4 separate regions of the Homo sapiens genome follow, and regions 1, 2 and 3 are each linked to region 4. Evidence: promoter capture Hi-C in 16 types of primary human blood cells and fetal thymus (Javierre and others, 2016). All regions are on one chromosome and are shown on one strand. Each heading gives the region's core, a stretch centred on a gene start or on the middle of the fragment in contact. The rest is flanking DNA. Distances are from core to core; before and after follow the strand shown. Region 1 overlaps P3R3URF-PIK3R3 (P3R3URF-PIK3R3 readthrough). Region 2 overlaps MAST2 (microtubule associated serine/threonine kinase 2). Region 3 overlaps P3R3URF-PIK3R3 (P3R3URF-PIK3R3 readthrough). Region 4 holds the start of LURAP1 (leucine rich adaptor protein 1).

Region 1 (5,682 bases), core at 2,170-4,669, 150 kb after region 4:
AGGATTTGGGAGGCATAGGTGTGTAGTTGATGGTAGATGCTAAGAATGAAATTACACAGAAAGGATGTGGCAGGAGAAGTAATGGATTTGATAACTAAAAGGATATTGAAATCCTATCAAAGCAAATTTAGTGGAGTATTGGAAGACTAAGCTAGATTATAGTGGGTTGAGTGCTAAAGTGGATAATAAATACAAGTAATTAATATGCAATGGAAAAGCAAAATTATTTCTCATATTAGGACCACAGTATTAGTGTATTTCTGTGTGCATGAGTTTAGAGCTAAGCACTGTGAGGCAGTGTAGCTTAATGGTTAAAGTGCTGTGAGACAGTGTAGCTTAATGGCATGAGTTTAGAGCTAAGTGCTGTGAGGCAGTGTAGCTTAAATGGTTAAAACTATGGGCTTGAATTCTGAATTAGCCATTTATTAGCTGTATAAACTTGGGTGAATTACTTAACTTTTCTCAGTCTGTTTTCTCTTCCATAAACTGAATAATATCTTGTTGGAATGCTAGAGAATTAAGTAATATATATCCTGGCACATGATGTGCTTTCAGTAAATGATAATTATTTATTTATTTATTTATTTGAGACGGAGTCTCTGTTGCCCAGGCTGGAGTGCAGTGGTGCCATCTTGGCTCACTGCAACCTCTGTCTCCTGGGTTCAAGCGATTCTTGTATCTCAGCCTCCTGAGTCGCTGGGATTACAGGCACCCCCCACCATGCCCGGCTAATTTTTGGTACTTTTTAGTAGAGATGGGGTTTTGCCAAATTGGCCAGGCTGGCCTTGAACTGCTGACCTCAGGTGATCCACCTGCCTTGGCCTCCCAAAGTGCTGGGATTACAGGCTTGAGCTACTGCGCCTGGCCTAATTATAATTATTATTAACGATGAAGAAACAGAAAAGGATTTGTAGTTTTGTTGCAGAGGGAAGTAAAGTAGCATGATAACGTTTTGTTTTATTTATTTATTTTTGAGACGGAGTCTCGCTCTGTCGCCCACGCTGGAGTGCAGTGGTGCGATTTCGGCTCACTGCACCCTCCGCCTCCTGGGTTCAAGTGATTATCCTGCCTCAGCCTCCCAAGTAGCTGGGATTATAGGTGCATGCCACCACACCCGGCTGATTTTTGTATTTTTAGTAGAGATAGGGTTTCATCAAGTTGGCCAGGCTGGTCCTGAGCTCCTGACCCCAGGTGATCTGCCCGCCTTGGCCTCCCAAAGTGCTGGGATTACAGGCATGAGCCACCGCGCCCAGCCTATTTTTAATTTTTTTTATTTTTTGAGGTAGGGTTTTGCTCTGTTGCCCAGGCTGGAATGAAGTGGCATGATCATGGCTCACTGCAGCCTCAACCTCCTGGGCTCACGGGATCCACTTGCCTCAGCCTCCCGAGTTGCTAGGACTACAGGCAAGTGCCACTGCATTGGCTAATTTTTAAAAATCTTTTTGTAGAGATGGGGTCCTGAACTCCTGGACTCAAGCAATCCTCCCCGCTCAGCTTCCCAAAGTGCTGGGATTACAGGTGTGTGTCCAGCATATGAAGTTTTAATAGTAATATAAAGCCACATATTGAGTGACAAGGGAATAATGTAGACAGTCATTACCATAAGGGTTCAGAGTATAGCAAAACGTTGTGTGTTGGAAAAGCTTATAGCTGTCATCTGTTGCGTGCTTACCAAGATAATGTCAGGGAATGTTTTTGTCCTTTACATGTATTGTCACATTTAATTAACAGAAAAACCCAGTGAAGTAAGTACTGTTGTAGGTACCCATTTGTATTAGTCCATTTTCATGCTGCTGATAAAGACATACCTGAGACTGGGGTAGTTTACAGAAAGAAGAGATTTAATTGGACTTACAGTTCCACGTGACTAGGGAAGCCTCACAATCATGGTGGAAGGGAAGGAAGAGCAAATCACGTCTTACATGGATGGCAGCAGGCAAAGAGAGAATGAGGAAGATGCAAAAGCAGAAATCCCTGATAAAACCATCAGATCTCGTGAAACTTACTCACTACAATGAGAACAGTAGTGGGGAAACCGCCTCCATGATTCAGTTGTTTCACCTTGGTCCCTCCCACAGCATGTGGGAATTATGGGAGTACAATTCAAGAGGAGATTCGGGTGGGGACACAGCCAAACCATATTATTCTGCCCCTGGCCCCTCCCAAATCCTTTATCTTTACATTTCAGAACCAATCATGCATTCCCAACAGTCCCCCAAAGTCTTAACTCATTTCAGCATTAACTCAAAAGTCCACAGTCCAAAGTCTCATCTGAGACAAGGCAAGTCTCTTCTGCCTATAAGCCTGTAAAATCAAAAGCAAGCTAGTTATTTCCTAGATACAGTGGGGGTACAGACATTGGGTAAATACACCTGTTCCAAATGGAAGAAATTGGCCAGAACAAAGGGGCTACAGGGTCCATGCAAGTCTGAAATCCAGCAGGACAGTCAAATCTTAAAGCTCCAAAATGGTCTCCTTTGACTCCATGTCTCACATCCAGGACATGCTGACGCAAGAGATGGGTTCCCATGGTCTGGGGCAGCTCCGCCCCTGTGGCTTTGCAGGGTACAGCCTCCCTCCTGGCTGCTTTCACAGGGTGGCCTTGAGTGTCTGCGGCTTTTCCAGGCACACGGTGTAAGCTGTCAATGAATCTACAATTCTGGGGTCTGGAGGACAGTGGCCTTCTTCTCACAGTGCCACTAGGCGGTGCCCCAGTAGGAACTCTGTGTGGCGGCTTCGACCCCGCATTTCCCTTCCACACTGCCCCAGCAGAGGTTCTCCATGAGAGCCCCGCCCCTGCAGCAAACTTCTGCCTGGGCATCCAGGTGTTTCCATACGTCTGAAATCTAGGTGGAGGTTCCCAATTCTTGACTTCTGTGCACCTGCAGGCTCAATGCCACATGGAAGCTGCCAAGACTTGGGGCTTGTACCATCTGAATCCATGGCCTGAGCCCTATGTTGGCCCCTTTCAGCCATGGCTGGAGTGGCTAGGACGCAGGGCACCAAGTCTCTAGGCTGCACACAGCTCAGGGACCCTGGGCCCAGCTCACGAAACTCCTTTTTCCTCTAGGCCTCCAGGGCTTGATGGGAGGGGCTGCCTTGAAGACCTCTGACATGCCCTGAAGACATTTCCCCCATTGTCTTGGGGATTAACTTTTGGCTTTTTGTTACTTATGCAAATTTCTGCAGCCGGCTTGAATTTCTCCTCAGAAAATGGAATTTTATTTTCTATTGCATTGTCAGGCTGCAAATTTTTCAAACTTTTATGCTGTTTCTCTTTTAAAACTGAATGCTTTTAAGAGCACCCACGTCACCTCTTGAATGCTTTGCTGCTTAGAAATTTCTTCCGCCAGATATCCTAAATCATCTCCCTCAAGTTCAAAGTTCCACAAATCTCTAGGGCAGGGGCAAAATGCTATCAATCTCTTTGCTAAAACGTAACAAGAGTCACCTTTGCTCCAGTTCACAACAAGTTCCTCATCTCCATCTGAGACCACCTCAGCCTGGACCTTATTGTCCATATGACTATCAGCATTTTGGGCAAAGCCATTCAACACTAGGAAGTTCCAAACTTTCCCACATTTTCCTGTCTTCTTCTGAGCCCTCCAAACTGTTCCAACCTCTGCCTGTTACCCAGTTTTAAGGTCACTTCCCCATTTTCGGGTATCTTTTCAGCAGTGCCCCATTCTACTAGTACTAATTTACTAAATTAGTCCGTTTTCATGCTGCTGATAAGGAAATACCCAAGACAGGGCAATTTACAAAAGGAAGAGGCTTAATTAGGCTTACAGTTCCACGTGGCTTGGGAAGCCTCACAATCATGGTGGAAGGCAAGGAGAGGAGCAAGTCCCGTCTTACATGGATGGCAGCAGGCAAAGAGAGAATGAGGAAGATGCAAAAGCAGAAACCCCTGATAAAACCATCAGATCTTGTGAGACCTATTCACTACCACGAGAACAGTATGGGGGAACCGCCCCCATGATTCAGTTATCTATTCCCGGGTCCTTCCTACAACATGTGGGAATTATGGGAGTACAATTCAAGATGAGATTTGGGTGAGGGCACAGCCAAACCATATCACCATTTTAAACAGATGAGGAAATGAAGGCACTGAGAAGTTAAATAACTTGCCCATGGCCCCACAGCAAGTGACAGCAGAGATTCAGATGTAGGTAGGCTAATTGCAAAACCATTGTTCTTAACTGTTGTGTTATGCTACCTCTGGAATATCAAATGTATAGCTTTACTTGTTCAGTCATTGCTGGATTCAGGGCCCAAACAAGGTTATTGGGATTCTCTCTCATGTTGTATTTTGGCTCAGTTTTTCTCTGGGTTGATTTTATCCTCAGGCAGGCATTGCCGGTGAAGTGACAGTATAGCTGCTGGGATGAGAACTGCATATTCATAATTTAGCAATTTGTGTGGAAAGAGAGAATTTATTTTAACAATACAGTTCTAGCAAATGTTCTAGAATTGACTCTCATTGGGTCAGTTTGAGTTTTATTCCTATTCCTGAACCGTCACTGTGGCCTGAGGGTAGGGATGGGATAGAGTGGAATATTCTTATTGGCCAGTCTGGGCCATGTGTGTTTCCATCCCTGGATCTGAGACGGGGGAATGAATCCTTACCTCCAGGGAACATCAGGGTGCTAATACCAGAAATGGGAATGGATATGGGCCAGGCAAAAACAAATGTTCACCACGCTTAAGATATTAGGACCTCACTGGGTGCAATGGCTCACGCCTGTAATCCCAGTACTTTGGGAGACTGAGGCAGGCAGATCACCTGAGGTTAGAAGTTTGAGACCAGCCTGGTCAACATGGCAAAACCCCATCTCTACTAAAAATACAAAAATTAGCCGGGTGTGGTGGCATGCGCCTGTAATCCCAGCTACTGGGGAGGCTGAGGCAGGAGAATTGCTTGAACCCGGGAGGCGGAGGTTGCAGTGAGCCGAGATCATGCCACTACACTCCAGCCTGGGTGACAGAGCGAGACTCAATCTCAAGGGAAAAAAAAAAAGGATATTAGGACCGTGCTCACCCAGTAGGATCTGTCTGCTTGATTTCTATTTTAGCCTTAACATGTCAAATATTTTTACAGAATTATGATGAATTATGATAAATTGAAATCACGTCTGGGTGAGATTCATGATAGCAAAATGCGTCTAGAGCAGGATTTGAAGAATCAAGCTTTGGACAACCGAGAAATAGATAAAAAAATGAATAGCATCAAACCTGACCTGATCCAGCTGCGAAAGATCCGAGATCAACACCTTGTGTAAGTAGTCTGGGAGTGTATGGGGAGGGAGACGTTAGTGCCAGGTTACTACCAGCACTAGAGACACTAGAGGTGGAAGAAGAGATTAGAGATTTGTAATTGAGAATTGGCCAGTAAGATGGTAAGAATTTAGGAAAGTGTCCTTGGTAGTTGTAGGGGGTACCAGAGTTAATCTGAAGTTAATATGTGGAGCAAACCAGAATGTAGGACTCTTGATCCATACAAATGCCTTGGAAATCTCAGAGGCTGGCTGTGGCATGAGTAAAATGCTATATCTTAACAAGAACAGATTAATGTTTGCCTAAAACATAAAAATCAGAATCTTTGTTTACATACTAGAACTGAGTGGGGAATTTCTATTTCCTCTGAGGGGAAGTAGGTTCTAGGCTGGGCACTGTGGCTTA
Region 2 (5,178 bases), core at 2,271-4,770, 250 kb after region 4:
AAACTGTTATATCTAAATCCTTGTGTCTGAAAGTGAAAATGTCTTGAAACTTCAGGGACGGATAATTAATTCCAGCTTCATTTGCCTTAACCTTATTTAAAATTTAAAATAAAAGCCAAAACACTAAAGATCGTATTTCCAGGCCACATGCCTTTTTATAAAGGTACACATAATCTCACTTGGCAAATCTTTAACAGCTGCCAGGGGAAAAAAAGGTCAGACACTCTGCTACAGATACCATGACTCAGCTGAGATCCACAACAAGGAACTGGCTAATTTTTCCATTTCAACAGGCTCTGGCCATTTCCCCAGGATCCTAAGAAGATAAAGGGCAAGTCTTAATTCTTTCATTCCAGTAAGATGAAGTACTGGATATCTGCAGAGTTGGGTACACTAACTCTCAGCGGACGGGTGGTAGCCTGGAAGCCCCCGGAGCTACCTCATGCAAAGACTGGTGTTAAATCATCCCAGTCACTTGGCTACTTGGAGTGAGACTTGGCATTTCAATTTCTTACATACCTCGCCATGGTCATCTCAGTCAACAGCAAGAACAAGGGCTAAGGCATATCGTGCATTCTCTGTGACAATGTTGAATTGTAACCACATTTGGAGAGTAGTAGATCGTTTCTAGCCTTCAAAAACCCCTCCCTCCAGCAACTAGCAGGCACTCGGAAAATCTGACCCCTGCAAGAGCTGCTGTAAATTTACTTAGGAAGCCTGCTTCCCACTGTGAAGCAACAAAGGGTATGGAATAAGATGTCTGGTTGCAGATCCCTTAGGTCTCTCCAGTCTCCAAATCTCAGAGGTCTAGCTGCTCCTAGGAACTTGAGCACTCCGTGACTGGATAGTACTTGGCAGGCACCTTTTAGAATTTAGAATGAGGAAAAGATCACTTCTGTTTCAGTAAGTGTAAACAATATAAAGAAGAATGTGGAGCTGGTTACAGTCAAGCACTTCCAGATGCTATAATATTTCAGAGTAACAACCAAGATGTCCTGGTTAAGATGGGGAAGTGAGAGTGGGAAAAAAATACATATTCCCTCCCCAATAAAGGGAGATATTATTACGTATCCATTATATTATTATTGATATATTATTTATTGCTTACCTGGATTTCAATACCCTCCTAACTAGTCTCTCTGGTTTACTCTTGTCTTCTACCCTAATCTGTTCTTAATATGAGCAAGCCACAGTGATTCTTTTAAAGCACACATCTGATTATTTCATTCCTCTGCTCAAAACCTTCCACAGGCTGCTAATTTTGCACAGGCACTTCTAGCTACTAGGACCAGCGTTAACTGTTCCCTTTACTTGCAATGTCCTTCCTTCAACTACACAATGGCAAAATCCCTCACTCCTTCAAGGCTTTATTCTAATGTCACCTTCCCAATTTTCTGTTTTCCTGAATCCCCTTTGGTCTACCTTTTTTCCCAATAGCATTTGTCATCTTCTAACATACTACATAAACTATGTTTACTGTCTGTTTCTTCTTTTCTAGAGTGAGCTCTAAGAGGTATCCCAATCACCTAGAAATAGTACACAGGGCATAGGAGGTTTTCGACAAGTGTTTATTGAACAAATGAATGTATTTCCACAGAAGCAGGTAGTCAGAATTCCCCGCAAGGGCAGCAGGCATCAGAGGAACTAGGAGAAAAGTCTTTGCTCTAAGGTAAAGTTTTCCTCCAAGTCTGATGGCAACTCTCCTTGAATTAATCAAGTTTTTTTTTTTAACCTCTGCTCTATTGGTTTAGAAATTACATATTGTTTTGTTTTTTTCTGTCCTAAAGTAGTTGTTATTATTCAAGGTTTAATAGGTGTTCTTGTCTCAACAATGTCTAAAGTTAACCAGCACCTCAACTCTCTTTCTGAACAAAATTAAAAGATCCTAGATCGCTTTTAACTCCAATCCTCCCACTCCCTTTCAACTTACCTATTATTACAATCTATTATTTCAGGTCTATCTTACTTTTACATTGCCAAATTAGTAATTATTATTTTATACAATAATTGCTTGCTTAGATTTACTCATGTATTTTCTAATTTCACTGCTTAACATTCCCTCTTGGGATCTCATGTATTTCTTCTTTGTTTCTGAAATATATCCTGTAGTAATTATTTCAGAGAGGATCTGATAGTAATAAATCTTCTCTATAGATTTTGTTCTCTTGGTTTTTGATGGTCTGAAAATGGCTTTTTTTGGTCACTCACTTCCACTGCTAATTTAGCAAGTATGGATAATTCTAGTGTCTTGTTCAGAGTAACTTTTTTCTCAATACTTTAAAAATATTATTCTGTAGTCTTATGGCTCCTGTTATTGCTGTTGAAAAGCTTACTCTTAGCATAAGTGCTGTTCCTTTGTACTTAATTTTTCTTTTTCTGTCTGGTTGCTTTATTTTAACCATTAACTTATTTTTTTAGATATATTTCCAACAATATAAAATTCACCCTTTTAAAATGTACAACTCATTCATTTTTAGTATATTCACAAGGCTGTGCAAGCACTGCCACTATCTAATTCCAGAATATTTTCATTGCCAAAAAGAAACCTTGTACCCATTAGCAGTCATTCTCCATCCCATTCTCCCCACAACCAACCACCAACGTACTGTCTCTATGGATTCACTGTCTCTGTGGACTCTACGTATTCTGGACATTTCACAGAAACTGAATCATACATTATGTAGTCTTTGGCTTCTTTTACTCAGCATGTTTTCATGCATGTTGTGGCATGCATAAATTCTCCATGCCACAATTGTTAATCCTTTCATAAAATGACAAGGTATTTGGGTTGTTACTACTTTTTGGTTATCATAGATGCTGCTGCTGTGAACATTTGTTTACAAGTTTTTGCATGAACATATATTTTCAATTTTCTTGAGTGAACTTTCTTGCTGAGCTCTTTTACTTTAGTGAATTCTTGAGGGTTCTTTAAGATATTCTCTTTGTTTTCATGGCTCTGCAGTACTGCAATGTATCTAGATGGGGATTTATTTTTATTTATTATAGTGGGGACTCACCATGCTTCAAGATGTTCCTTGTTTGTTTCTAATCAGTTCTGGAAGGTCTCAGTCATTATCTCTATGAATACTGCCTCTTCCCATTTCTCCATATTCTGTTGGACCATCTGATCATATCTTCTGTATTTCTTAGCTTTCATTCATAGTTTATATCTTCCCATTTCTGTCTTGCACTCTTGATAAAAATTTTACTTTGTCCACAGCTCTATTATTTAACACGACTGTTGCATTTTCAATTTCAACAACACAATACATATATTTTATTCCTCGAATTCTAATTAGCTTTTTGTCCAAATATATTTGGTCTTTTTTTCTCTTGTTTCTGTTTCCTTCTTTTATATTCTTTTTTGTTTGTTTTGAGACAGGGGATCACTCTGTCACCCAGGTTGGAGTGCAGTGGCTCAATCTCCACTCACTGTTGCCTCTATTTCCTGGGCTCAGGTGATCCTCCCACCTCAGCCTCCAGGGTAGCTGGGGCCACAGGCCCATGCTACCATGCCTGACTAAGTTTTGTATTTTTTGTAGAGACAGGGTTTTACCATATTGTCTGGGATGGTCTTGAACTCCTGGGCTCAAGTGATCCGCCCGTCTTGTCCTCCCAAACTGCTGGGATTACAGGCATAAGCCATCATGTCCAGCCTCCTTCTTTTATATTCTTAATAATTTTAAATATACTAATCTTACAGTCTTAATCTCTAATGTTACTTTGTTTTTCTTTTTGAGACAGGTTCTCACTCTGTCATCCAGGCTAGGGTGCAATGGCACAATCACAGTTCACTGCAGCCTTGACCTCCCTGACACAAGCAATCCTCACCTCAGCCTCCCAAGTAGCTGAGAAAACAAGCATGCACCACCATGCCCAGCTAATTAAAAAAAAAAAAATTTAGTAGAGATGAGACTTCACTATGTTGTTCAGGCTGGTCTTGAACTCCCGGGCTCAAGCGATCCTCCCACCTCAGCCTCCTAAAGTGCTGGGATTACAGGCATGAGCCACCACACTCAGCTAACATTCGTATTTTTTTGTAGAGACAGGGTTTGACCATGTTGCCCAGGCTGGTTTCGAACTCCTGGGCTCAAGCAGTCCACTCGCCTCAGCCATCCAAAGTATTAAGATGAAAGTTGTGAGCCACTGTGCCCACCCTCTAATGCTACTTTCTGAAGTTCCAAACTGTTTCTTTTATCTATTGATTTTCACTTAGGGGAGATTGGTTGGTTGGTTTGTAATTTTGTACTACAAACTTACCTTCAGTGAAGCTGCATTTATGAGAATCCTATGATACCTGATTTGAGGGTATGTCACTTAATAGAAGTGTTAAGTTTGTTTCTGACAGATGAGCCAGAGTTATTACCAGCCCAGAACCAGCTTCTAGACCACACAAAGAGTATAAACTCCAACCCCCAATTTCAGTTAAGTGAAGGCTTACAGGTAGAAATTTTCAAGGGAGACGTCTTTCCTTTATTAAAAGCCCTATTTAAAATCCAGATGAGATTAAGAAAGTTCTTTTTATCTGTACATGCCAGTGGTTTTCCTAGTCCATTCCTGCACTGAGGGTGAAGTCTTTTGAGGGTCCTAATTGTATGTAGGGGGTGTCCATTCTAATTGCTTACACTAAACAAGCCAAGACCTCATCTTTTTTCCCCTCAAGGTTATTGAGACTAGCACATCTCCTCCCTGACCCCATTTTTGGAAGCTTCAAAGCTGGCTCCCACTGTTATTATTATTATTTTTTAGGTTCAGGGGTACATATTCAGGTACATAGGTAAACTCCTGACACAGGGGTTTGTTGTATAGGTTGTTTCATCACCCAGATATTAAGCCTAGCACCCAATAGTTACTTTTCCTGCTCCTCTCCCTCCTCTCTCTCTCCACCCCCAAGTAGACCTCAATGTCTGTTGTTTTCCCTTCTTTGTGTTCATGAGTTATCTTCATTCAGCTCCCACTTATAAGTAAGAACATGCGGTATTTGGTTTCCTGTTCCTGGGTTAGTTTACTTAGGATCGTAGCCTCCAGCTCCATCCATGTTCTCGCAAAAGACATGATCTTGTTCTTTATGGCTGCATAACATTCCATGGTATATATGTACCACATTTTCTTTATCCCATCTATCATTAATGGGCATTTAGGTTGATTCCATGTCTTTGCTAATGTGAATAGTGCTAT
Region 3 (5,220 bases), core at 2,616-5,115, 170 kb after region 4:
GTTGAACCTGCTGAAGCAGGTGGATGCTCAAGATTACGTGCAAGGAATCCCTCCCATCTGGTACTAAAATTTCAGTGTGTTCTGAGTGTCTTTTAAACCAAAATGGAAATACAGATACAGGGCTGTAGTATTCAGTAATGTGTCTGCTCCTTGTTGGGCAGACACCAGCGGTGTGCAGGGAGAGACCAAGTACCATCTTTATCTACACTTGGGCTGGCTTGTGGAGAAGGGCTGCTTTTTTTCAGTCCTACATTCCTTCATTTTTTTTTTCATTCTTGAATTCATTGTTTTGTGGGATCTAAGACCCAGGGGTCATTTGAGAGGTTTGACAGTATCTTTTCTGACCAGTTGCCACATGACTTGCTTGACCCTGAGCCTGTGGAAATGGCATAGGGACCAGTCTACTACCCACTGGGCCTGGTGTGTAGAGGGGGAGAGGGTAGCAAGGTGCTTCTCTACGCCCATGACTTGGGAGCAGGTCTTGGCCTCCTTCATGAGAGTCTAGTGCCATGTCCTGTCCCATGATCTGGACCCTGGGACTGTCTTGGCATCTTAACTGCAGTTTCAATGAGGCAGAGGGCAAAGAGAGACCAAGATCAGAGGGGTTCATTATACCCCTGGCTAGAGAACCCAGCTACTGACATGCAAGCAGCTTGGGGCTGGCTGGACACAGGTACTAGGCCCATTGTTTCCAGGTGAAGCTTTCATCACAGAACAGTGTTGTCTCCACCTGGCCTTAGATGGCACGCCATGATTCGGGCCTGGATAGACTGCCTGCGTCCTTACCACTGATCTGGCCAAGAATGAGGCCCTCCCAACACTTTCACTCCCTCTCCAAGCCTTGATGGGACCTCCACTTATTTAGGCCTCATGTGCTTTGAAGAAGCTTTGAGAGCCAATGTGTCTTCCACGGGTCTCTTTTTTGCTACAAGTAATCAGCCCCATGTGTTCTCTTAAACTGAGAATTGCACCTGGGCAATTCCTGTTTTCTAAGGTGGTCTCTGCTGCTATTTAACAACCCAGAGTAGGCCTCTGTGAGGCTTCAGTGGCCTCAGAAACCAGAGGGTCCAGATAGGGGGCCTGCTTGGGCCCTCTGCTGCCAACTGCTCAAACCTGCTTTAGCTCCAGCCACTTGTGGCAAACAACCTCGTTTCCTTACAAATTCCAGCATGTGACTTTGGTGCCGTTACTTGTGAAAAATCTATTCTGTTGTCTTTGATGTGTCCAAGAAAATTCGTGTAGTTTACGTAAAAATATCTGACTCACAAGAAAGCCAACTGTATGTCTTGTGATGGGACAGTTCATAATGTAGTTGCTAGACCACTTTACAAATTGTTCTTGTCACCAGATGTGTTCAGACATTGCTGTGCAATTGTTGGGGAGGGTAGGGGGAAAGGCGAGAGGAGATACTTATTGGTCTTTTTGTTTAATACCTTCCCCAAGAGGGGACAGTCTGGCCAACTTGCTCCAGTAATGCAATAAAGACATTGCAATAAAGTAATTTTTTGTCTTCATGCTATGAAGGGGTGGGCTGGGGGCAGAGTGGGGGTCAAGAGAGAAGAGTACTCAGGTGTTGAACAGCCCTTGAAACTTCCAAACCTTCTCTCCAGTAAGCACCAAAAGACTAGTACTGGGGCAGCCAGAGGCTCTTTTCTTCCTAGGGGAGGACATTGACTCCAACTAGGCATGATGCCAGAGTCCTGTCCACCGAACACAGACACAGAAGTCTTAGATACTGACTCTGAGAAAATTAAAACTGAATGCCATTTCCTCCACACCTCACTGCCCACTCCTAATAAGCTGTTTATTGGTTCTCATATTTCTGCCCAGAATGAAGTGTTTCCACATTCTACTCTGGGGGAGGGGGAAATGGGCCCAGCTTTATAATCTATCCTCTTATTGCCCCAGGCCCTTGTCATCTCCTGCCAAGGCACACTGTTGAGCTTCCTGTATTCTGGGAACGTAATGAGCCAACATGCGATAACCTCTTGTTGCATAGGATATTGCAGCGCTCATCCATGTCTCAGGCCCCACCCATGTGTACTCAATTATAAATAAGTCAGATTGGGCAGGGAACAGCCTGTTGTTCTAAGTGACCTTGCCTATGTCTTTTCTCCCCACTACACTTTAGCTACACAGCATCCCAAGACCACTGCCAGGAACTATGGATTTCTCCTAATCCCAGAGTTGTTCGCACTTCTGTGTTTAGGATGCTCAAATTCCTAGCTCCTTCCCAGTTCTTTCTTCTGAACTCTACCCGCTGGCTGGATGTTTCCACTGGGCTCCTGGGTATCTCACCGACACTTCAAACTTGTTTACTTGGGGCTGGGCGTGGTGGCTCATGCCTGTAATCCCAGCACTTTGGGAGGCCGAGGCGGGTGGATCACCTGAGGTCAGGAGTTCGAGAACAGCCTGGCCAACGTGGTGAAACCCCGTCTCTACTAAAAGTACAAAAATTAGCTGGGCGTGGTAGCATGCACCTGTAATCCCAGCTACTCGGGAGGCTGAGGCATGAGAATTGCTTGAACCTGGGATGCAGGGGTTGCAGTGAGCTGAGGCCGTGCCACTGCACTCCAGCCTGGGCAACAGAGCGAAACTCTGTCTCAAAAAAGCAAACTTGTTTACTTGTCAGAAAAAGTATGATTGGCTATGAATTTCCTCACCTTCCTACCACCAAACCTACAACCTTATCTATATCTACATAACTATTCTCCCTCCCATCTGTTAAATTACAATAGTCCCCTCCAACTAAAGTCAATCCTTCCACATGTATTTTGGAATCTATTTTCTTCCACCTCAGGAATCTCCCAAGATTAAGATCAATTCTTTCTCTACTTCAACTGGATCATTTCCACTGACACTTAAACATGGTTGGTTGGTTCTCATTCTACTCCCCTAATCCCTACTCAATCATCCCATATACCTTTATCTCTTTTCTCCTCTTCAAAGCCAAGCCTTTGGAAAGAACTGTCTTAAATTTCCTTATTTCCCCATCTCAAATATTTCAGTACTGGTTCCACCACTGTTTGAAACTGCTTTTCTTGATGCCTTCAATAACCATCGCTGTTAACTATCCTGTCCATGGAAAGCTCCTTCATGGACTCTATCACAACTCACTAATCTAATATTCTTCTGACATCTGACTGTTCTTTTACATCTCCTGGATTCCTTCAGTTCTCAATGCCATTTTACCTGGCAGTTTTATCCACAGCCATGAATCCACCTACCATCTCTAGGCTGATTACATCTGTTTATTTCATTTGCCCAGACCTCTATTGGAAGCTACTTCATATTTAGCGTATGGAATGCAGCACTGAACTACTTAGCCCTGGTTCTCTTCCTTGTTTCTTATTTCGGTGAATGGAAATACAATTCATCTGGTTATATAAGTCAAAAATGTAGTCAGTCATCATCCTTGATAGCCCTCTGCTTCATACCTAAAGTCCTTCACCAAGTGTCAATCAAAACATCACTTCTAACTTCACTGCTTCACTACCATCTGCACCCTTCATCCTGGAAGGCCCCCCTTCTTCCATTCTTGTCCCCCTCAGATCCATTCTCATTATAGCAACCAGTCATCTTTTCAAAATACAAATCTGAACCGATGTAAAACATTAAATAAGTCTCCATTGATCTTAGGGTGAATTACAAAATTAGATGGTCTGGCTTCTCCCTGATTCAGGATCTCAATCCCCACCTTCAACTTTTCACTGGCTCTATCCCCCTCAGCTAGTGCCAGTATTTCGGGACTTCTTCCTCATTCTGCGTATGTTCCCTGGACAGTCCTCATCTCCTGTGGCTTTCATTGCCCTCTACTTCCTGATGGCTCCCAAATCTAGATGTCCAGCTTCCCACCCTTTCCTTCCTTACCTCCTCACTGTTGCTGTTCTAGTTCAGACCACCAAAATGGGTCACTACATCCTCTGTGGTACGCTCACTCCACTCCAGCCTCTCTATACTGCAGCGAGTGATCTTCCTAAAGCAAATGATAATACCACTTCCCTGAAGTTACCTTTTAGAAACTCTTCACTACCCTCAGGATAATCCCACCAGTTTCTCAAGGGGAACACCACTGACACTTGGGGCAGTTGCCCAGTGTGGTATAGGATGTTTAGCATCTCTGCTTCCTCCTCCCATCCCCATTTCCAACCCTCTAGGAGGGCAGTTCCCAACATCCTTTTCACCTGTGGTATGGTGCTTCTGACCAGATCCCTACATGCACGGGGCACTTGCTACCTCAGCCATGCCCCTGCCATTCTCCAGCTCACAACCTGTGATCTGTCTGCCCAGGTCCCGGTACATTAGCCCAGGGTCCGCTGTGAATGAATGAAGAAGTGGAGAGGACTAGAAGGCTGAGGGGCCAAATATCTGCATAAATGGGCTCTGCCACTGTGGATACAGTGCGCCCTCTGGTGGCCACAGCCTTCCCAGGCAATGGCCCAGAGGCATTTTCGTCTTCAGGCCTCCTAACACGTCTTCTTCAGACCTAGGCACTGGATTGTGGGACGATCAGTGCAACCAGTGCAAGACAGTTTCTCAAGTCCTCTATCACTATGGAGACAAAGCCTTGGTGCTCTACCAAGCCCCACTGCCTGCCCTGTGATGCCACCTCCTGACTCCCCTGGCACTGGTCCCACTTATGTCCTCCCCCTTCCTCCCACACTACCATCAAATGAAGTTCTACTCAATGCGGGCTACACACACGATGTCCATCCACCTCCAGTGCTGAGGCCTCTACCTACAACAGCCCAGGAAGAGCTCACTGGCTACAATTATGAAGGGCTTGTTACTAAATACGACTGGCAGCTGTTTTAATCTCGCCCTCACCTCGGCATTTATCGTTAACTTCTCTGTCCATTTTAAAACTCCTCCCATAGACTTTATGACTCTGCTGGTTGCTGCTTCTGTCTTCTCTTTTATCTCAAACGCACCCAAAGTTAAACTCTTTGCCTTCTCTCACTTCTTCCCCTCCTCATTTCCTGGCTGAGGCAATCCTAGTTAGGAGAGATGTGAGTTCCGGAGTCCAAGGGAGACCTACGTTCTAACCCCCGTTCTACCCAAGCTACTGTATTACCATGGGCATCAAAGTCTTAGTGCCCTTATCTATGAAGGAATTTTAGTTGCTACATGGTATTTTCTGGTTCCCCATCACCTTCACGAAGTCAAATCTCCTGGAAGACCATTAGACATGGCCCTTGCCTCACTTGCCAGACCCGTTTC
Region 4 (5,263 bases), core at 1,586-4,085:
CCTTGCCTAAAGCTTTTTCTCAAACTGCCTCTGTGGAGGTGGGTTGTCATAGCAACAGTTCTTTGGGTGGGAGAACTAAGAAGAAGTTGCCACTGTTTCCCATTCCCACATATCCCAGTCTGGCTTGTTCACTCAACCTTTGAATGGAGGGTAGAGGAAGAAAGCAGGAGGGACGAGGCCTAGAGGCAGGACTGACCTTGGCCTCAAGGGTAGGCCTTCCCCCTTTGTGCAAGGAGAGCTGGGAGAGGAACAATTGAAGGACAGTCCTTAGAGGGCTTGAACCAGTCCTGCCTTCAGTAGCCCGAAGGCAAATCCCTTGCCCCACCCCTTGTCCTTCCTGGGTGCAACCCAGTAGGCAGGGCAGAGCACAAGAAGAGATTAATATTAATAACATCCTGGCCTGAGGAAGGAGAAAAAATAGGATGGGGATCTCTCCTCATTCTGGCCCCAGAAGGCTCCCTCCCTTGTGCCCTTTCTCGGGCAGCCTCAGGCCCCAGGCAAGCTGGGTCAAGAATACAGAGAGACAAAATCAAAAGTTAAATGCAGCCCCTTAAAGTTTACAGATAGTTTCCACCAAGGCAGAGAAGAGAGCCAGAGACTGGGCGTGGCTCTTCCACTGACTCCCTATGTGAGTTCAGAATCTGCAAGCACGTTTTATCTGTAAGATGGGAGAAATGATGACCAGTTTTCTCATTTCAATGACATAAAATGTTCAGACTATCTGGCACAAAGCAGGTCTCAAAGTAAAGATGCAAAGTGCAGTCAGATGATCTGGGTTCAAATCATGGCCCTGCTTTTTGCGTGATGTTGGGCAGTTATTAAACTCCCTGTGCCTCTGTTTTCTTTTCTTTTCTCCTCCCTCCCTCCCTTCCTCCCTTCCTCCCCTTCTTCCCCTTCTTTTTTTGAGACAGGGTCTAGCTCTGAGCTCTGTCACCCAGGCTGGAGTGCAGTGGTGCGATTTCAGCTCACTGCAACCTCCTCTTCCTGGGCTCAAGTGATCCTCCTGCCTCTGCCTCCAGAGTAGCTAGGACTACAGGCACACACCACAACACCCATCTAATTTTTGTATTTTTTGTAGAGACAGGGTCTTGCTTTGTTGCCCAGGCTGGTCTCAAACTCCTGGGCTCAAGCGATCTGCCTGCCTCGGCCTCCCAAAGTGCTGGGATTACAGGCGTGAGCCACCATGCCCACCCTGTGCCTCAGTTTCTCCATCTATAAAATATCACTTAACAGGGTTACTGTGGAGATGAAGAGAGCATCATGTAAAGTGCTCAGCAAGCTGCCTGGCACATGCACTGGGTGAAAGTTTTCAAAGCAAGTAGACAGTCTAGATAGGCTCTTACTAGGCCTTGAGCTAAAGTTTGTACAGTGAGGCAAAGGCAAGCCCCCGCTTAGGTGGGTACAGTCACAGCCTTGCTCTGGAGAATTGGGCACTCACCTCCAACCTTCAAGGCCAAGTGCACACTTGGCATTCAAGTCCTTCTCCCAGGGGGCCTTTCCTGACTGCTCCACCCACCAGACTCTCTTCCCAGCCTCTCAGCTCAGGCGTCGGAGCCCTGGCTGGTCTCAGAGCCCCCATGATTTCCTTCCCCTTCTCCTTCACAGACCAGCTTGGCACAGGCTGGGCACACAGGAAGACTTTAGCTGACGTACTCACTGTGGGCTCCTGGTTGTGAGCCAGGAAGCCGATGGCAATTCCTCAGTTCCCCAGAACTGGCTGCAAAGTAGTGGCAGGTGTAAATCACCCACTTCACCGGAATCAGGGCCCTGGGGAACCTGCCAGGGCCTCGGCTGCCCTTTTGGCTCTGAATCTAGACCAGCAGCAATAGAGAAAGGGGAGGGTTGCTGTTTCCTCTTCTCCCCAAGAATGTACAGATGAGATCCAAATATCCAGTTTACCTGGAAGACTGGCTGGGAGGAGACTGAGTCTGAGGCGAGGGAATCAGCACCAGTGGTGCTGCTACTCTCTGTCCCTGCTATGGGTCTAGGAACTTTCCATTATTTTAAGTAGGGCTGGGGGATGTAGAGGAAACGGAGAAGGTTTTCAGTGCCCCTGGTCCAGGTAGTTTTCAGCAGATAGGCCCCTTTACCCACTTCTTTTCTGTGCGGAACACTGCGGCCTCACAGGAACTTAAACCCTTTCCCGGTTAGCAGAAGGAGAAAAAACCGGTTGCCTTACAACGGGGACTGGCGGGGAATAGGTGGCCCATACAGGCGGGGGGAATTTGTGCTGCGTTGGGTTCTCAGTACTTCCCAGTCCTCATCTCTCTCCTCCCAATTATTTGGCAGGAATAACTTCCAAAACCCACTGCTCCCAACCCAAGTCCTCAGGACCATCAACACCCCACTCACTCTTGGGGGACAAGTAATGGACGTCACTCCATCTCCACCCCAGCGTTTACGGATTGATCTGGGAGGGATTCTGAGCAGTTAGGTGGAGAGTTTTAACTACCTCCTCTCCAGCTTAACTCTGGGAGCATGAGTTCGTCCCTCCCGGCCCTACACTAGGGACTCGTCCCCTTGGCCCATGGATTCAGCACTCACCAGCTCCATCTTCAGCGCCATGATCTTGTCCCCCAAGTCGTGGCCGGTGCTAGACGCCCCTGGGAGCAGCAGGGCGCCAGAGGTTCCCAGCTCACACTCGCCTCGCAGCCCGCGGAGCAGCCCTTCAGGGGTCTTCCTGCCCACCTTACCCTCCACATCCCGCAGGTCAGGCGTCTGGGACTCCACGGTCCCCTCCATGCGGGCCCAAGCCTGAAAAGGGCTGGGCGACCGGACGCCGGGGACCGGCTCCCGGGGGTCCTCCCTTCGCCGCTGCTAAAGCGGAGCAAAACCGGTGGGTCCCCGCCCGCGCGGCGCGGGGGCGGGAGGAGGGCGCCGTAACACTCAGAAAAGCCGCGCAGCACCGTCTGTGGATGTATTCGAGTGCTGCGCACACAACCTCTGGCCCTGGATTGCGTGGGGCTGGGCGATTCTGGAGTTGGACCTGAAAGAGCACTCGGAGACCTCAGCGCCTTCGCCCCACCCTGGCACTGAATCCAGCCAGGCACACAGCAGGCGCCCAATACATGTTTGCAGAATGAAGTCTAAGCAGCTTCAGTCAGAGATGTGGGAGTTTAAGGAACAGCGGTAACAGAGAGCTGCAGAGGGCTTGGAAGTCTTCCTGGAGCAGAGGAATTGGGTATAAAACGATGACTGGATTTTAGCTAGACACACACACACACACACACACACACACACACACACACCACCCCCCCCCCCCAGGGGCTAGAATTCAGGCTAACGGAGTAGAAAAGGGCAACCAGTACTGAAGCTGAAGAGGTCCACGTTGGGCTTACAAGCAAGATGCTCCTTAAGCTTGACTGTGCGTATGAATTATCTGCGGATCTTGTTAAAATGTAGGTTCTGATTTTGTAAATCTGGGGTGGGGCTTGAGATCCTGCATTTTTTTTTTTTTTTTTTTTTTTTTTTTGAGACAGAGTCTCGCTCTGTCGCCCAGGATGTAGCGTGGTGGCGCGATCTTGGCTCACTACAAACCTCTGCCTCCCTGGGTTCAAGCAATTCTCCTGCCTCTGCCTCCTGAGTAGCTGGGATTACAGGCATGCGCCACCATGCCCAGCTAATATTTTTGTATTTTTAGTAGAGACAGGGTTTCACCATGTTGGCCAGGCTGGTCTTGAACTCCTGACTTCAAGTGATCCGCCTGCCTTGGCCTCCCAAAGTGCTGGGATTACAGGTGTGAGCCACTGCGCCCAGCCAAGATCCTGCATTTCTAATAAGCTCCCAGGTGATGGCCATGCTGCTGGTCCACACTTCAAGTAATAAGGGACCACACTTTGAGTAACAAGGTTACAGAAAATGGTTCTGAGATGTTTGGGTTTTATTTAACAGGTAATGAACAGCCATGAAAACTCTGGTTTGTTTAGGCTTTTAATTCAAGTAATTCCAGCCCATGGTTGCAGAAGGATTTACAATGAGAAGATAGTTACCCCTACCCTACCCTTTCACACCTCTAGGCCCACTCCCAATTGGCAAAAAATAACTTTTAGTTTTTTTTTTTCTTTTGGTGTTCATACCCATAACGTTATTGTTTAGAGTTAACTAAAAGTGGTTGCCAATTGGGAGTGGGCCTAGAGGTGTGAAAGGGTAGGGTAGGAGTAACTATCCTCTTATTGTAAATCCTACCACTATTTTTTCTTTTTTAGAGACAGGGTCTTCCTACATTGCCCAGGCTGGACTCAAACTCCTGGGCTCAAGCAATCCTCCTGCCTCCCAAGCAGCTGTGACTACAGGAGTATGCCACCATGCCCAGCCACACTACTTCTCAATTTTAAACATTCATCTGCTGTTTATTGTCCTATTCAGATAAATATGGATATATGGGTTTAACTCACACTCTGTAGTTCCTTTCCCCCATTGGCAATATATATTTCTTTTCTTTTCTTTCTTTTTTCTTTTTTTTTTTTTTTTTGAGATGGAGTCTCACTCTGTCGCCCAGGCTGGAGTGCAGTGGCACGATCTTGACTCACTGCAACCTGCCCTCCTGGGTTCAAGCGATTCTCCTGCCTCAGCCTCCTGAGTAGCTGGGATTACAGGCACGTGCCACCATGCCCGACTAATTTTTGTATTTTTAGTAGAGACGGGGGTTTCACCATGTTGGTCAGGCTGGTCTCGAACTCTTGACCTCGTGATCTGCCTGCCTCAGCCTCCCAAAGTGCTGGGATTACAGGTGTGAGCCACTGCGCCCGGCCTGGCACTACATATTTCTATCACTCTTTTTAGTTCATCTAAGGTTACCTTTGTAATTAACTTTTTTTAAAATTTAGATAGAGTCTCGCTATGTTGCCCAGGCTGGTCTCGAACTCCTGGCCTCAAGCAATCCTCCCACCTTAGCCTCCCAAAGTGCTGGGATTACAGGCATGAGCCACCATGCCTGGCCTACCTTTATAATTTTAAGTAACATCATTTTCCTTGGTACTTTTTGATCCATGGAAGGGTTTTAAGTTAGAGATAGACAAAACATTTGTCTTTTTTTTTTGAGACAGAGTCCGGCTCTGTTGCCCAGGCTGGAGTGCAGTGGCACCATCTTGGCTCATTGCAACTTCTGCCTCCCAGGTTCAAGCCATTCTCCTGCCTCAGCCTCCTGAGTAACTGGAATTACAGGCACCTGCCACAACACCCAGCTAATTCTTGTATTTTTAGTAGAGACGGGGTTTCACCATGTTGGCCAGGCGGATCCATCCGCCTCAGGTGATCCACCCGC

The links. The method cuts DNA at HindIII sites, captures the fragments that hold promoters and counts their contacts. A CHiCAGO score of 5 or more calls a contact.
Region 1: a contact is called between a fragment that was not itself captured here and the fragment with the promoter of LURAP1 in region 4, in 2 of 17 cell types (M1 macrophages and endothelial precursors). The highest score is 5.2, in M1 macrophages.
Region 2: a contact is called between a fragment that was not itself captured here and the fragment with the promoter of LURAP1 in region 4, in 3 of 17 cell types (erythroblasts, M1 macrophages and M0 macrophages). The highest score is 6.3, in erythroblasts.
Region 3: a contact is called between a fragment that was not itself captured here and the fragment with the promoter of LURAP1 in region 4, in 16 of 17 cell types (M1 macrophages, endothelial precursors, M0 macrophages and 13 more). The highest score is 10.6, in M1 macrophages.

Annotation. Positions count from the first base shown.
Region 1 is chr1:46,055,391-46,061,072 of GRCh38, reverse strand. It overlaps P3R3URF-PIK3R3 (P3R3URF-PIK3R3 readthrough), which reads left to right. Exons shown (of 10, transcript NM_001303427.2): 7 at 5,102-5,278. It overlaps PIK3R3 (phosphoinositide-3-kinase regulatory subunit 3), which reads left to right. Exons shown (of 10, transcript NM_003629.4): 7 at 5,102-5,278. Among named protein-coding and RNA genes, the nearest start is that of PIK3R3, 74 kb to the left of the region's middle. The HindIII fragment of the contact is 3,547 bases long and covers 1,646-5,192 here.
Region 2 is chr1:45,949,780-45,954,957 of GRCh38, reverse strand. The region is part of intron 4 of MAST2 (microtubule associated serine/threonine kinase 2); the gene reads right to left. Among named protein-coding and RNA genes, the nearest start is that of MAST2, 150 kb to the right of the region's middle. The HindIII fragment of the contact is 2,380 bases long and covers 2,331-4,710 here.
Region 3 is chr1:46,036,421-46,041,640 of GRCh38, reverse strand. It overlaps P3R3URF-PIK3R3 (P3R3URF-PIK3R3 readthrough), which reads left to right. Exons shown (of 10, transcript NM_001303427.2): 10 at 1-1,501. It overlaps PIK3R3 (phosphoinositide-3-kinase regulatory subunit 3), which reads left to right. Exons shown (of 10, transcript NM_003629.4): 10 at 1-1,501. Among named protein-coding and RNA genes, the nearest start is that of PIK3R3, 94 kb to the left of the region's middle. RefSeq lists enhancers at 4,518-4,567, 4,177-4,678. The HindIII fragment of the contact is 5,954 bases long and covers 889-5,220 here.
Region 4 is chr1:46,200,906-46,206,168 of GRCh38, reverse strand. LURAP1 (leucine rich adaptor protein 1) reads right to left here and starts at 2,835. Exons shown (of 2, transcript NM_001013615.3): 1 at 2,545-2,835. The coding sequence starts at 2,742. It also overlaps a transcript of POMGNT1 not described here. RefSeq lists a silencer at 2,795-2,914. The HindIII fragment of the contact is 3,345 bases long and covers 15-3,359 here.